Linked DNA regions of Homo sapiens: regions 1 and 3 are each linked to region 2. The links are contacts of gene promoters, found by promoter capture Hi-C in human tissues and cell types (Jung and others, 2019). All regions are on one chromosome and are shown on one strand. Each heading gives the region's core, a stretch centred on a gene start or on the middle of the fragment in contact. The rest is flanking DNA. Distances are from core to core; before and after follow the strand shown. Region 1 holds the start of SYNE4 (spectrin repeat containing nuclear envelope family member 4). Region 2 overlaps ZNF146 (zinc finger protein 146). Region 3 holds the start of CLIP3 (CAP-Gly domain containing linker protein 3).

The links. The method cuts DNA at HindIII sites, captures the fragments that hold promoters and counts their contacts. A contact is called where the count stands out against the background at its distance.
Region 1: the fragment with the promoter of SYNE4 here is called in contact with a fragment that was not itself captured in region 2 in 1 of the 25 tissues and cell types used here (dorsolateral prefrontal cortex).
Region 3: a contact is called between the fragment with the promoter of CLIP3 here and a fragment that was not itself captured in region 2, in 3 of the 25 tissues and cell types used here (dorsolateral prefrontal cortex, spleen and stomach).

Annotation. Positions count from the first base shown.
Region 1 is chr19:36,006,744-36,010,881 of GRCh38, forward strand. SYNE4 (spectrin repeat containing nuclear envelope family member 4) reads right to left here and starts at 2,070. Exons shown (of 8, transcript NM_001039876.3): 1 at 1,811-2,070; 2 at 1,474-1,624; 3 at 382-525; 4 at 7-201. The coding sequence starts at 1,938. It overlaps ALKBH6 (alkB homolog 6), which reads right to left. Exons shown (of 7, transcript NM_032878.5): 6 at 3,824-3,940; 7 at 2,377-2,810. The coding sequence ends at 2,547. RefSeq lists enhancers at 1,242-1,783, 1,784-2,323. The HindIII fragment of the contact is 19,934 bases long and covers 1,199-4,138 here.
Region 2 is chr19:36,217,013-36,221,291 of GRCh38, forward strand. It overlaps ZNF146 (zinc finger protein 146), which reads left to right. Exons shown (of 4, transcript NM_007145.3): 2 at 1,110-1,183. It also overlaps a transcript of ZNF565 not described here. Among named protein-coding and RNA genes, the nearest start is that of ZNF146, 4.0 kb to the left of the region's middle. The HindIII fragment of the contact is 7,261 bases long and covers 1-4,279 here.
Region 3 is chr19:36,031,075-36,035,346 of GRCh38, forward strand. CLIP3 (CAP-Gly domain containing linker protein 3) reads right to left here and starts at 1,799. Exons shown (of 14, transcript NM_015526.3): 1 at 1,650-1,799; 2 at 1,118-1,341. The coding sequence starts at 1,283. All of the region lies in intron 3 of LOC101927572 (a long non-coding RNA gene), which reads left to right. THAP8 (THAP domain containing 8) reads right to left here. Exons shown (of 4, transcript NM_152658.3): 4 at 3,910-4,272. The HindIII fragment of the contact is 12,641 bases long and covers 1-4,272 here.

The sequences.
Region 1 (4,138 bases), core at 820-3,319, 210 kb before region 2:
CCCTACCAGGCTGTAGCTGACCAGCTGGGCCTGCAGCTGCCAGAGCCGCCGGAAGATGGAGTCTCGGTAAGCTCCCAGGGCCCGCAGGATCTGCTCCAGGGCTGCCCAGGCCCTGGGCTCACTCCGCTGTGCCAGCCCCTCACCAAACGCTAGCAGCGCCTCCACACGCTCAGCTGCCCCTCGTAGGTCCACCTGGAGGGCCTGGGGACATATGGACATCACCCCACGCACACACCAGGGACCCAAAACCTGGAGTTACCCCCCTCCCCCATTTCCTATCCAAAGGCCTGGAACATGCACTCAACCCATTTCCCATCCCGGAAAGCTGGCACCCACTGCTGGGGCCGTGCCCACCCCCACATCCTGGCCTCTCCTGCCTACCTGCAGCTGCACCATCCCACTCTGGGCCAATGCCCAGTGCCCCAGGCCTTGCTCCAGGTCCTGCAGCCGGCGGCCCAGCCCCAGCAGGCACAGGTGCAGGCTGTTCTGCTCAGCCTCTAGTACCTCCAGGCCAGAAATGGGGTGCTGGGGAACACAGGAGCCAGGTCAGGGCCAGTGGGCCAATCAAGATATCACCCCTGCTCCCATCCCCACCCCTCTTCTGTAAGCTTCTGGAAACTTCTCTGTGGCACAGTCCATCTCCGGGTCTGTCTGCACCAGGATGGCTCCCACTGGGGGGGCCTTCCCAGTGGAGCCAGGCCTGAGGACAGATATCTAGTTCAAGGTCTCCAGGTTTTCAAAGCTCCTGGAAACTTGGATGTGTGAGGCCTGGGGGGTCTGGACAGGGAGCGGGGCTGGGTACCCCCCAAGAAGAATGGGGCTACACCAGGAGCAATGATGAAATGCTTCTCAGCCGGGCGCAGTGGTTCACATCTGTAATCCCAGCACTTTGGGAGGCCGAGGCCCGAGGATCACTTGAGCCCAGGAGTTCAAGACCAGCCTGGGCAACATGGTGAGACATCATCTCTACTTTTTTTTTTTTAATAAAAAAGAAATATGGCTGGACACGGTGACGCACGCCTGTAATCCCAGCACTTCGGGAGGCTGAGGTGGGTGGATCACCTGAGGTCGGGAGTTCGAGACTAGCCTGGCCAACAAGTCGAAAACCCATCTCTACTAAAAATACAAAAAATTAGCCAGGTATGGTGGCATGTGCCTGTAATCCCAGCTACTCGGGTGGCTGAGGCAGGAGAATCACTGGGACCTGGGAGGCGGAGGTTGCAGTGAGCAGAGATCTCACCACTGCATTCCAGCCTAGGTGACAGAGAGACTCCATCTCAAAAAAAAAAAGAAAGAAAGAAATACGTCTCCCCAGTTGGTCAGATATTGAAACACTTTTCCAGAAGGTCCCTCCCCCTACAGACACCCAACACCTTTCCAGAATCATCACCCGGTCCTCAGTATGGAGGCCAGACTCCAGGGGACAGAGAGGAGGTGGGGCTGGCACAAGGGGTCTGGGTCACCTCAGCTCACCTCACAGTGTTTGCCCCCAGCTGGGTCCTCGTAGGAAGAGGGTGTTGACCATCTCGGGGGGTGAGCGGCAGGCTCATTGCCCCTTGGCCCACCCTGGAAGTGCTCAGGAGGGCCCAAGGAGTCCTGTCCCAGGGTCTGGGCCTGCTCTGGGCTAGGAGGCAGGGGGCGGTGACTGGGTGAGTCTCGACACCTCACTTTTCAGCCTACCGTCACCCCAACCCTGGTGGCCTCTCCTATGTCCCCAGGCGATCACAGCCATGGCACCTCCTACCCTCACATGGCCCCTGCCACCACGCCTACCCTTTTGGGAACAAGCTTCCAAAGCCCCGGCCCCCACCTCGTGCTCTCCTCTCCGGACGCGGGGCAGACGGTGCATCCAACAATGTCCGCCTCTCTAGGTGCTCCCGGTGGGTGGTTGAGGGGCTCTGAGCCAAGTCTAGGGCCCAGAGGCAGGGACAGGGCCATGGCTGGGGGCCTGGGGACACAAAGTCAGGTGAGGGCAGCCAGTAAGACCTCTTCCCTAGACAAGGGTGTCCCAGAGCTCCTCCGCTGGAGTCACCCGGGCCTGAGGCTGCAGGAGAGGCCCAGGACAGGTCTGGCTCCGCCCCTTCCAAGAGGAACCTGGACCCGGCCATTTGATGCCCAGCTCAGGTGACAGAAGAGTCACTTAACTCCTTCCTCCCTAGCAGGCCAGTAGCTAAATCTCCCAGCATCACTCCACGCCATCCAAGAGGGTTCCAGATAGAACCCCTGCGCCACCTCCTCAAGAGCCCTGGATTCTGCCCCACTGGGAACCCAGAAATCGGACCTCCAGGGCCTACCCCATTCATTTAAGACCCTAGATGCCGCTCCCCTCAGGAAACCAAGCATCTGGCCCCTAAAAAATAAAAATATAAAACCAAGGAAAGATTTTTTTGTTTATTTGGTATGGGGTCTTCTGTAGCTCACACAAAATTATTGGGAAAATAAATAACCCAGGGGAGCCCCCTTTGCCCACGGTTCCTAGGTCGCGGAGTCACAGCAGCCCCAAAGGGGCAGGAACCTGGGAATCCGAGGGGTCCCGGCCCTGGCGGTCACTTGCCCAGCAGGAGGCCGGCGCGCAGCACGCGGGGCACGCGGCGGATGGTCAGCGAGACCCGGGTGCCGCGCACCAGGCAGGCTCCCGGCCGCGCCGACGGGCAGGCTGCCGCATTGGGCGGCGAGGAGGCGGCGTCCAGCGCGTCTACGCGGGCGGCGGCGATGCCGTGGAGAAGACGCGTGTAGGCGGGGCCGCGGAGCACCAGCAGGCTGCGCGGTTCCAGCAGTAGCGAGGTGGTGGGCCGGGGCGGAGGCCGAGGCTGCAGGGCGGGTTGAGGGTCAGCAGGGCTCAAGAAGTCGGGGGGTGGGGGTGGGCGAGAGGTCGGTAGCCTCCGGGGATCAGCTAGTCCCCAGGGGCAAAAGCTGAAGAGCAAGTGTGCTCACAATGATGGAGGCTTTGGTGGTTCAGGAGTGAAAATTGCTGGGGCCTGGGCTGGGGCTGCTGGAAAGGGAGGGCGAGGGCTCTGCCGTCCCTCGGGAGGGGGCAGGATCTAGGTGGCAGATGGGGGCGTCAAAGGGTCAGCGGCCGGTGGGAGCTGCAGCTGGGATCTCAAAGGGGCTGAGGCTGGGGCTGGGACCCAGGAATAGGCAGTCCCCAGGAAATACAGGCAGAGCTGGGCTGAGAGAGCATGGCTGAAGCCAGGACCAGGTGAGGAGAGAGTGAGGCAGAGGTTAGAGGCAGTGGGGGTTCCCAAGGACATCAGGACATTAGAGGACAACCGCACAGCTGAGGGAGTGTCAGAGCATCCAGGAGCATGCAGGGCTCGAGGGCAAGCCTCAAGGAGTGGGTCGGCGTGTTCAGGGGCGTTTCTGTGAACACTGGGGTGCTAGAAATGCATCACTCAGAGAAATTGTGTCAAGGGGTCAAGGAGAATCTGGGGGTGTCCTGCACCCCAAATCACATTCCTGGAGTAGCAGGACGTCTGGGGCACCCTGAGCAGGGGCAGATAGAGCATCTGGGAGGAGGTGAGGCCCCCCGAGTTAATGGCGGTGGGGTATCTAAGGATATCAGTGTCTGCTGGGGAGTCAGGGGTATCCATTCAGCAGGTTGGGGCATCGGGGAGCCTGTGAAAATCATGGCATGTGGGACAGACACCCTGTAAGCAGATGGGTTGGGTGTCTGGGAGGAAGTGGGTACACCCCATGAGGGGACAAGGGAAGGTATCTGGGAGAGTGCCAGGAGTACCCCGAAGGCATGTGGGACCAGGTCATCTTGGAGGATGTGCGAGGTTGAAGTGCCTACAAGCAGCTGGGGCAGTGTCTGGGGGCCCACCTGTTCTGTAGGGTCATCGTCCTCTGGCCGCCGCGGCTCGTAGAAGTCCAGCACGGTGTGGGAGCCCAGGCTGATGGTGCTGACAGTCGGGTAGTACAGTGGTCCGTCCTCGTGGGGCTAGGGAGTGGGCACCAGGGCTGGGCAGGGCAGGAGTCCACAACCCCCACCCTCTGGGTCAAAGGGGGGCTTCCCAAGCCAGGGACAGGGAGGTGAATGCCTGTTTGGGAGATGTGGCTGCCTAATGAGTGAGGGTGGGTACAGAGTCCCCTGCCCCAGCACAGCTCAGAAGTCTGAGTGGGGGGACACGGGCCGAGG
Region 2 (4,279 bases), core at 739-3,238:
CCTGGCGACAGCATTCCAGCTTGGTGGACAGCCAGTCCCTGTCTTTTTTTTTTTTTTTTTTTTTTTTTGAGATGGAGTCTCTCTCTCTTGCCCAGTCTAGAGTGCAGTGGCCCAATCTCTGCTCCCTGCAACCTCTGCCCCCCAGGTTCAAGCGATTCTCTTGGCTCAGCCTCCCGAGTAGCTGGGATTAGTTGCCTGCCACCACACCCGGCTACTTTTTTTGTATTTTTAGTAGAGACAGGGTTTTACCATGTTGGCCAGGCTGGTCTTGAACTCTTGACCTCAAGTGATCGGCCCGCCTCGGCTTCCCAAAGTGCTAGGATTACAGGCATGAACCACGGTGCCTGGCCGACCCTGTCTTAAGAAAGAAAGAAAGGAGAGAGAGAGAAGAAAGAAAAGAAAAACAGTTCATGCCCATCAGTGGGAGATTGGTGTACATCGATACAACAAAATAATACATAGCTGTACAAAAGAATGAGGAGGAAGCTCTTTATATACTGAGACAGAAATAACTTCAAAATGTATTGTTAACTGAGAGAAAGCAAGGTGCAGAATGTAGAGTATGATACACGATGCATTTGGAATAAGAAAAGGGGTAATAAGAATATGTATTTATAATCCCAGCACTTTGGGAGGCCAACGCAGGCGGATCACCTGAGGTCAGGAGTTTGAGACCAGCGTGACCAACATGGAGAAACCCCGTCTCTACTAAAAATACAAAATTAGCCAGGCGTGGCGGCACATGCCTGTTAATCCCAGCTACTTGGGAGGCTGAGGCAAGATAATTGCTTGAACCCGGGAGGCGGAGGTTGCAGTGAACAGAGATTGCGCCATTGCACTCCAACCTGGGCAACGAGAGTGAAACTCCATCTCAAAAAAAAAAAAAAAAATTCAAAAGATACATACGAAATAATAAAACTGGCTGTTGGGGTGGGGGTACTGGAATAGACAGGGCAAAGGCTTTGTATTTTTAGTAGAGACGGGGTTTCACCATGGTGACCAGGCTGGTCTCGAACTCCTGACCTCATGTGATCTGCCTGCCTCAGCCTCCCAAAGTACTGGGATTACAGGCATGAGCTAATTTTTTTTTTTTTTTTTTTAAATTAAAGGAAGACATAGGCCAAGGAGCCAGACTTCCTGTGTTAACTCCTTCCTCTGCCACTTTTTACCTTGGGGACCTCAGGTAGGTACTTAAACCTTGGGCCTCAGTTGCTCATTTCATAGTATAGAAATAATAGCAATATTTGATTCAAAGGGTGGTTGTGTAGCTCCAGAAGTTAATACATGTAAAGTTCTAAGAATAGTCCCCAGTGTGTAGTAAGTACTTGATTAATGTTAAATACTAGTACTTTTTATTACTAGCTGCAAAAAAAATGCTTCCTCAGAAAATATTATAGTCCTGTGTCTGGTAGGAATTTCTGAAAGAATAAGATATGTAGATGCACTTTTGTTATTAATATTTCTTTTTTTTTTTTGATGGAGTCTCACTGTCGCCCAGGCTGCAGTGCAGTGGCCTGATCTCGGCTCACTGCAGGCTCTGCCTCCCTGGTTCATGCCATTCTCCCGCCTCAGCCTCCTGAGTAGCTGGGACTACAGGTGCCAGCCACCACGCCTGGCTAATTTTGTTTTTGTATTTTTAGTAGAGATGGGGTTTCACCGCGTTAGCCAGGATGGTCTGGATCTCCTGACCTTGTGATCCACCTGCCTCAGCCTCCCAAAGTCCTGGCATTACAGGCGTGAGCCACTGCGCCCGGCCTAATATTTCTATATTTTAATTTTTTTACTTAAAATTTTCTTTTTTTTTGGTGGAGGGGGGGACAGAGTCTCGGTTTGTCGCCCAGGCTGGAGTGCAGTGGTGCTATCTTGGCTCACTGCAAGCTTCACCTCCCAGGTTCACGCCATTCTCCAGCCTTAGCCTCCCAAGTAGCTGGGACTACGGGCGCCCACCACCACGTCCGGCTAATTTTTTGTATTTTTAGTAGAGACGGGATTTCACCGTGTTAGCCAGGATGGTCTCCATCTCCTGACCTCGTGATCCGCCCACCTCGGCCTCCCAAAGTGCTGGGATTACAGGCGTGAGCCACTGCGCCTGGCCACTTAAAATTTTCTGTGGATATTTCCTTTTTTAACTGGAATCAGGAAGTTAGGTTTGTTTTTTGATTTTTGAGATGGGGTCTCACTCTGGCTCAGGCTGGGTGCACTGGTGCGATCACATCTCATTGCAGCCTCCACCTCCTGGGCTGAAGAGATCCTCCCACCTCAGCCCCACCCCCGCAGTGGTTGGGACTACAGGTGTGTGCCACCACGACCTGCTAATTTTTAAACCTTTTTTTGTAGAGATGGAGTCTTACTATGTTGCCCAGGCTGGAAGTTAGATTTCTGTGTTTGAGTTATGTTTATCTTTAGAAAGTCATCATTATCCGCTCCTTTGGAAGATTTGTTCTTTGATTTCTATGATTACTTTTGCATGGTTCTAATTCAGAATCTCTGATGATTTTTTTTTTAATTCTAATTGTGATTGATTTTTGGCCAGAATACATCAGAGGTGATCTTACATACTTCAAATTGCATACCATTAGGAGAGATATACCAGATGGCTGGTGATTGTTACTTCCCTTTGACCAAAATGTTATGTTTACTTTGGTTCATTCTCCATCAGTCATTTAGTGGATGGTTTTAAAACCAATACATAATTCTTGGCTGGATGAGTAAATTTCTACAGGTATTGTAAAGTGATGATTTTCTGTTTTTTTTGTTGTTGTTGTTTGTTTGTTTTGTGTAAAAATGTAGTAGTCTATACGTTAAGAGAAACTTCTGGGAACAAACTAGAAATGATCCCTGGAAGTATAGTCTTAATTTCTCTTGTCTTTTCATTCCTTTTACATTTGTTTCATTGTTACATCAAATTGTATCTTTTTTTCCCCCTGGCTTTTTCTTTCTTAAACATCATCCTAAAGTTGTGTATATTTAGCGTGTTCTAGAATCAGCTGCACTTTTTGATGCCAGTGGATACCCCTTCAGGTCATTCTTGTCTCATTTTGGCTGACATCATTGATCTTGGAAAGTTTTCCTGCACTGCAGGCTTGTATCTTCCTCCCAGACTTGGAATTGACCATTTCTCCAAGGAGCTCTGGTTCCTTTTATTGGAGAATGGTATTAGAGACAAGATCAAGGGTGTGCTCATTGCCCAGGGGTAACATTGTTTTAAGGCCATTTTAAATTGCAGAGCATTTAAAAAATACATTTTTAATGTATTTTTAAAAATCATGAGTCCATATTCGTATTTCTAATTCACTTTAAATGGTATAGTATTTTTACCTAATTTCTTAGCTCCTAGTTCTTTTTTTTAATTTAATTTTATTTTATTTTTGAGACGGAGTCTTGCTCTGTCGCCCAGGCTGGAGTGCAGTGGCACGATCTCAGCTCACTGCAATCTCCGCCTCCTGGGTTCAAGTGATTCTCCTGCTTCAGCCTCCCGAGTAGCTGGGACTACAGGTGCATGCCACCACGCCCAGCTAAGTTTTTGTATTTTTAGTAGAGATGGGGTTTCACCGTGTTAGCCAGGATGGTCTCGATCTCCTAACCTCAGGTGATCTGCCCACCTTGGCCTCCCAAAGCGCTGGGATTACAGGCGTGAGCCACGGCGCCCGGCCTCCTAGTTGTATTTTATAGTAAAAAATATGAAACAAGTTATAAGTACTTATTTTGTTTGCTTTATCCTGCAATATAAAGAAAATGGTTTCAGTAACAATGCTGATACTAGTAGTAACCATAAACATACTGTATCATGTTAAAAAATTCTTTCTTTAATATATGTAACTATTTTTGTTCTTAAAATGCATCTTTTTTTTTTTTTTGAGATGTTGTCTTACTCTTTTGCCCAGGGCAGAGTGCAGTGGTGTGATCTTGGCTCACTTGCAACATCTGCCTCCCCAGTTCCAGCGATTCTCCTGCCTCAGCCTCCTGAGTAGCTGGGATTACAGGTGCCCACCATGACGCCTAGCTAATTTTTGTATTTCTAGTAGAGACAGCGTTTCACCATGTTGGCCAGGCTGGTCTCGAACTCCTGACTTCCTACTCGTCTTGGCCTCCCAAAGTGCTGGGATTTCAGGCATGAGCCACTGAGCCCAGCTTTTAAAATGCATCTCACTAAAGATGTATGTAGTCAAAGAACTCTGTTCTAAAGTCATTTGAAATCGTTTTTCTGAGGAATTATGTTACTAAATTAACATACAGTTGGGTTCATTTGTTGTTTTCAGGTTAAGGGACTGCTTTTTTT
Region 3 (4,272 bases), core at 549-3,048, 190 kb before region 2:
GTAGTGGCTCGATCTTGGGCAACCTCTGCCTCCCAGGTTCAAGCGATTCTACTGCCTCAGCCTCCCGAGTGGCTGGGATTACAGACATATGCCACTATACCCAGCCAATTTTTGTATTTTTAGTAGAGATGGGGTTTCACCATGTTGGCCATGGCTGGTCTCAAACTCCTGACCTCAGGTGATCCGCTGGCCTCAGCCTCCCAAAGTGCTGGGATTACAGGCGTGAGACACCATGCCCAGCCCACCTTTTCTTTCTTTCATAGCACTTGCTCCAATCTGAATTTATCTGATTTCTGATTTATTTATCTGTTCACTTGTTTAGTCTCTCCTTCTCTCCTGCAAGGGAGGATCATGCCTGGATCACTTAGGATTAAATCTCCGGCACCCAGCATAAGGCTTGTCACAGAGTAGCAGCACTCGATAAATATCGCTCGGTCAATGATTAGACACTTTCAGTTTCTCCAAGAGGCCGCCCTCTCAGCTCCATACCCTCCTACCTCAGATCCTTTACCCAGCGGTTACCTCTCCTGGGAGCCCTTTCCCCTGACCCTTCTCTTAGTTAACCCCAACTCACCCTCCAGTCTTCTCAACTGTAACCTCCTCAGGGAAACAATGTCTTAAAAAACTCTTGCAGCAGCTTGTTTATGGTAAATACAATTTTCATAATGTCTTGTAATTACATATTTATATTACATTATATTTTTCTTTCTTGCATATAAACCTAAATGTGAAAAATTACATTATGGTTTAATACCTATTTGTGTGGCTGTTACTGAGGCCTGTGAGTTGTCTCAGGGCAAAGACTGGGTCTCTCTTGCCCCCTGCTGTGGCCCCAGCCCCTAGCATAAAGCCAGGTCCACAGCCGCTTTCAAAAAATGATTGTTGAATGACTAAATGATGGAATGATGTGTCATGAGTCAAAGACTAGGAGTATTACAATTCCATTCTCCAATGGGTGAATGAATGAATTAACGAGGGGTGCTCTGCAGCCAAGATTCCTCTGGACCACCTTCAAATTCCCCAGAATTCTCCCACCATCACCACCAGCAGAGCACAGCCCACCCTCCCCGGCCACCCAACGCTCCAGGCCAGATTCCAGGGTGGGGACAGTGGTTACCGTAGTCCTTAGGGAGGGGGGCAGGTGCCGAGGGGTGCACAACAGGCTTCTGCCGGCGCTCCTGGGTGGGGCTGGGGGCCTCGGGGACGGGTTCATCCTCCTCCTCCTCTTCTTCCTCCTCTCCTCGGGGTGGCGGGGCCATCGGGGCAGGATCTGTCTTAGTCATGGTCCTCGGTGGCCCTCGGGGGGCGGGTGCAGAGTTGGGGGCAGCCTTCAGGCAAATCCTGGAGGCAGAGGTCAGCTGGAGAGGGTGCCCGGCAGGCTCCAGGGTCCAAGCCCCTAGGAGCTTCCAGGGCCCCGGGTGGCCTCCGCGCAACTGGATCTTGGGCAACCATAGGGACCCCCGTTACCCATAGAGGGCCCCGGTGTGTGCGCCCAGCGCCTGCCACCTCCCCCAGGCCCAGCCCCCCATTCTTCTCCTCCCGCGTCAGGCCCCTCAGTCGCGGCTGCCCCCTCCCCGGGTTTGTTTATCTCGGGATTCAGGATGCTTCGCCCCTCCCCTTCTCCGCGGGCCGCCCCCTCCCCATCTTACCTCGGGCAGACAGCGCTGGGGACCAAAGTGGAGACTGGGGAGACTGTGGGAGCAATGGGGTGTCGGTGTCAGGGGACGTGATGGGGGAGGCAAGGGAGACAGAGAGAAGGGGACGAGGCCCAGACGCCGACAGGGGGTGGGGGCGGAGAGGGAGGGGCGCGACTGCGCATGCGCCTGCTGCCCCCCTACCGGCGGCGGGGGAGGAGGGACCAGGAGGAGGGACCGGGAGGCGCTCGCATTGATGGAGGGGCCAGAGGCGGCGACTGAAAGGGGAGAGCCTCCGGGCACTGGGAGAGGAAGAGATGGCTACGGAAAGGAGCGAGATGAGCAGATACAACGGCAAAAGAGAGGGCTGAGAGAGCGGACACAGATCTTCTCCATCCCCTTCCCCCACGCCTGCAAACCAGGCCGGTGAGGGCAGTGGTCTTGGGGCGTGGTGACGATGGGGACCCTCTAGGGGACCCTCTCTCTAGGACCCTAGACCGGACCCCTTCTCCAAGCTCACCATTCATAATGGGTGCCTCAGAGGGGTGATTTCCTAGAGACTCCTATCATGATCATCTCATCCTTACCATCATAATGCGAGGCTCACACACTGGGGCCCAGAGGTTAAGCAGCTTGCCCAAAAGTACATGAGTAGGTGATGGAGCGAACATTTGAAACCAGACAGTCTGTAAAGTCTGATTTTTATTTTTATTATTTCCTAGACAGGGTCTCACTCTGTCACCCAGGCTACTGTGCAGTGTTGTGATCTTGGCTCACTGCAGCGTCAAACTTCTGGGCTCAAGCCATCCTCCCACCTCAACCTCCCGAGTAGCCGAGACCACACGTGCATGCCACCATGTCTGGAGAATTTTTTTTGAGACAGGGTTTTGCCATGTTGCCCAGGCTGGTCTTGAACTCCTGACCTCAAGGGATCCTCCTGCCCCTGCCACCCAAAGCGCTGAGATTACAGGCACGAGTCACCATGCCCAGCTTTGATTCTTAATCACCATGCTACATGCCTGTAGCAGTGTCTGGGAAACAGATCTGCCGATTGACCCCTCCAACTCTCTCAGAACCTGTATCTTCCCCACGGAGGCCTCCTGAAGCCAGCCCAGGGTCCTGGCTCCATTGTCATGGCTTGGCTTCCCACCTGGAGCTGTAGCCTGCTCTGCCTCAAATCATCCCAGCCTGGATGGGGCTGGGTGACAGCCTTGAACACCTCATCCTTCTAATGCACAGGTCCAGTAGCTCCATCTCCAAAAGATTTCCAGGATCTCACTCTCCCCACCGCTACCCTGGGCCCTCATCTTGGTCCATCCTTCTTCTTCTGCCACCAGCACTACGGCAGCAGCCTCTTACCTGCTGTCCCCGTCCTCCTCCAACATGCAGCCACAGGGACCCATGAACACCTGTCACTTTGGAGCCCTCTTTCCCTCAGAGGGGTCTGCCTGCTGCACCTCACTCCAGGTAGAAGCCAAGGCTCTCAGCCATGGCCCACAAGGGCCTATGTGAACCTGCCCCATCATCTCTGCACTCACCTCCTCTCACCCTCTTTTGTTCACTCCACCCCAGCCACACTGGCCTCCTTGCTTCTCCCTACCCCAGGACCTTTGCACTGGCTCTTTTTTTTTTTTTTTTTTGAGATGGCAGTCTCACTGTTCCCCAGGCTGGAGTGGAGTGGCATGATCTCTGCTCACTGCAACCTCTGTCTTCCAGGTTCAAGTGATTCTCCTGCCTCAGCCTCCCGAGTAGCTGGGATTACAGGCCTGTGCCACCACACCCAGCTAATTTTTGTATTTTTAGTAGGGACGGGGTTTCGCCATGTTGGCCAGGCTGGTCTCAAACTCCTGACCTTAGGTTATCTGCCTGCCTCAGCTTCCCAAAGTGCTGGGACGACAGGCGTGAGCCACCGTGCCTGGCCTGCAACGGCTCTTTGTGATGCCCGGAATGCTCTTCCTCCAAATCCCTACGTGGCTCCCTCTCTGCCCTGTTTTAGGATCTTACTTGTTGGTGTCTTTTCACCTTCTCTGCTCTAAAACTGCACCCCTTCCTCCCTTCCCTACTATGGTTTTCTCCATAGCAACACCGCCTCCCAGACCTGACACATCCCAGACAGCAGGCCCTCACTGCAGGGGTTGTTCGTCCTCTGGAACCTGAGCCTGTAGCGCTCCAGGCCAGCCCCTTCTGATCACCCAGGTTTCTGCTAAAACATGGCCTTGGAGGGCCCTCCCCCAGGCCCAAACCAAATTTTTGTTGTCTTTATAGCACTCATCGCTCATGTCTGCAGTGTTCTTGTTTATTTGTTTACTAGTTCATCGTCTACTCAAGTAGAATGAGCACCATGAGGGCAGGGATTTTCTCAGCTGTGTCCACCATGGTATCATGAACTCAGTACCAGGCTTGGCAAAAAGCGTGGGACTCCTTAGAACCAGGTATGATTCTCCCAAACAACCCTTGCTCTGCTCTGAGGCTGTCGTACTGATTTGCAAAGATCTGAGCCGGGGGTGGCAGAAGCCTGGTACCCAGGGGATTGGGGGCTGATGAGAGACTTGGGCCCAGGTCACCCCTAAGGTTCAAGAGATCCCTAGGAGTGGGGTGGTAGAACCCAGGCCCTTGAGGGAGGCACTGCTACTACCCA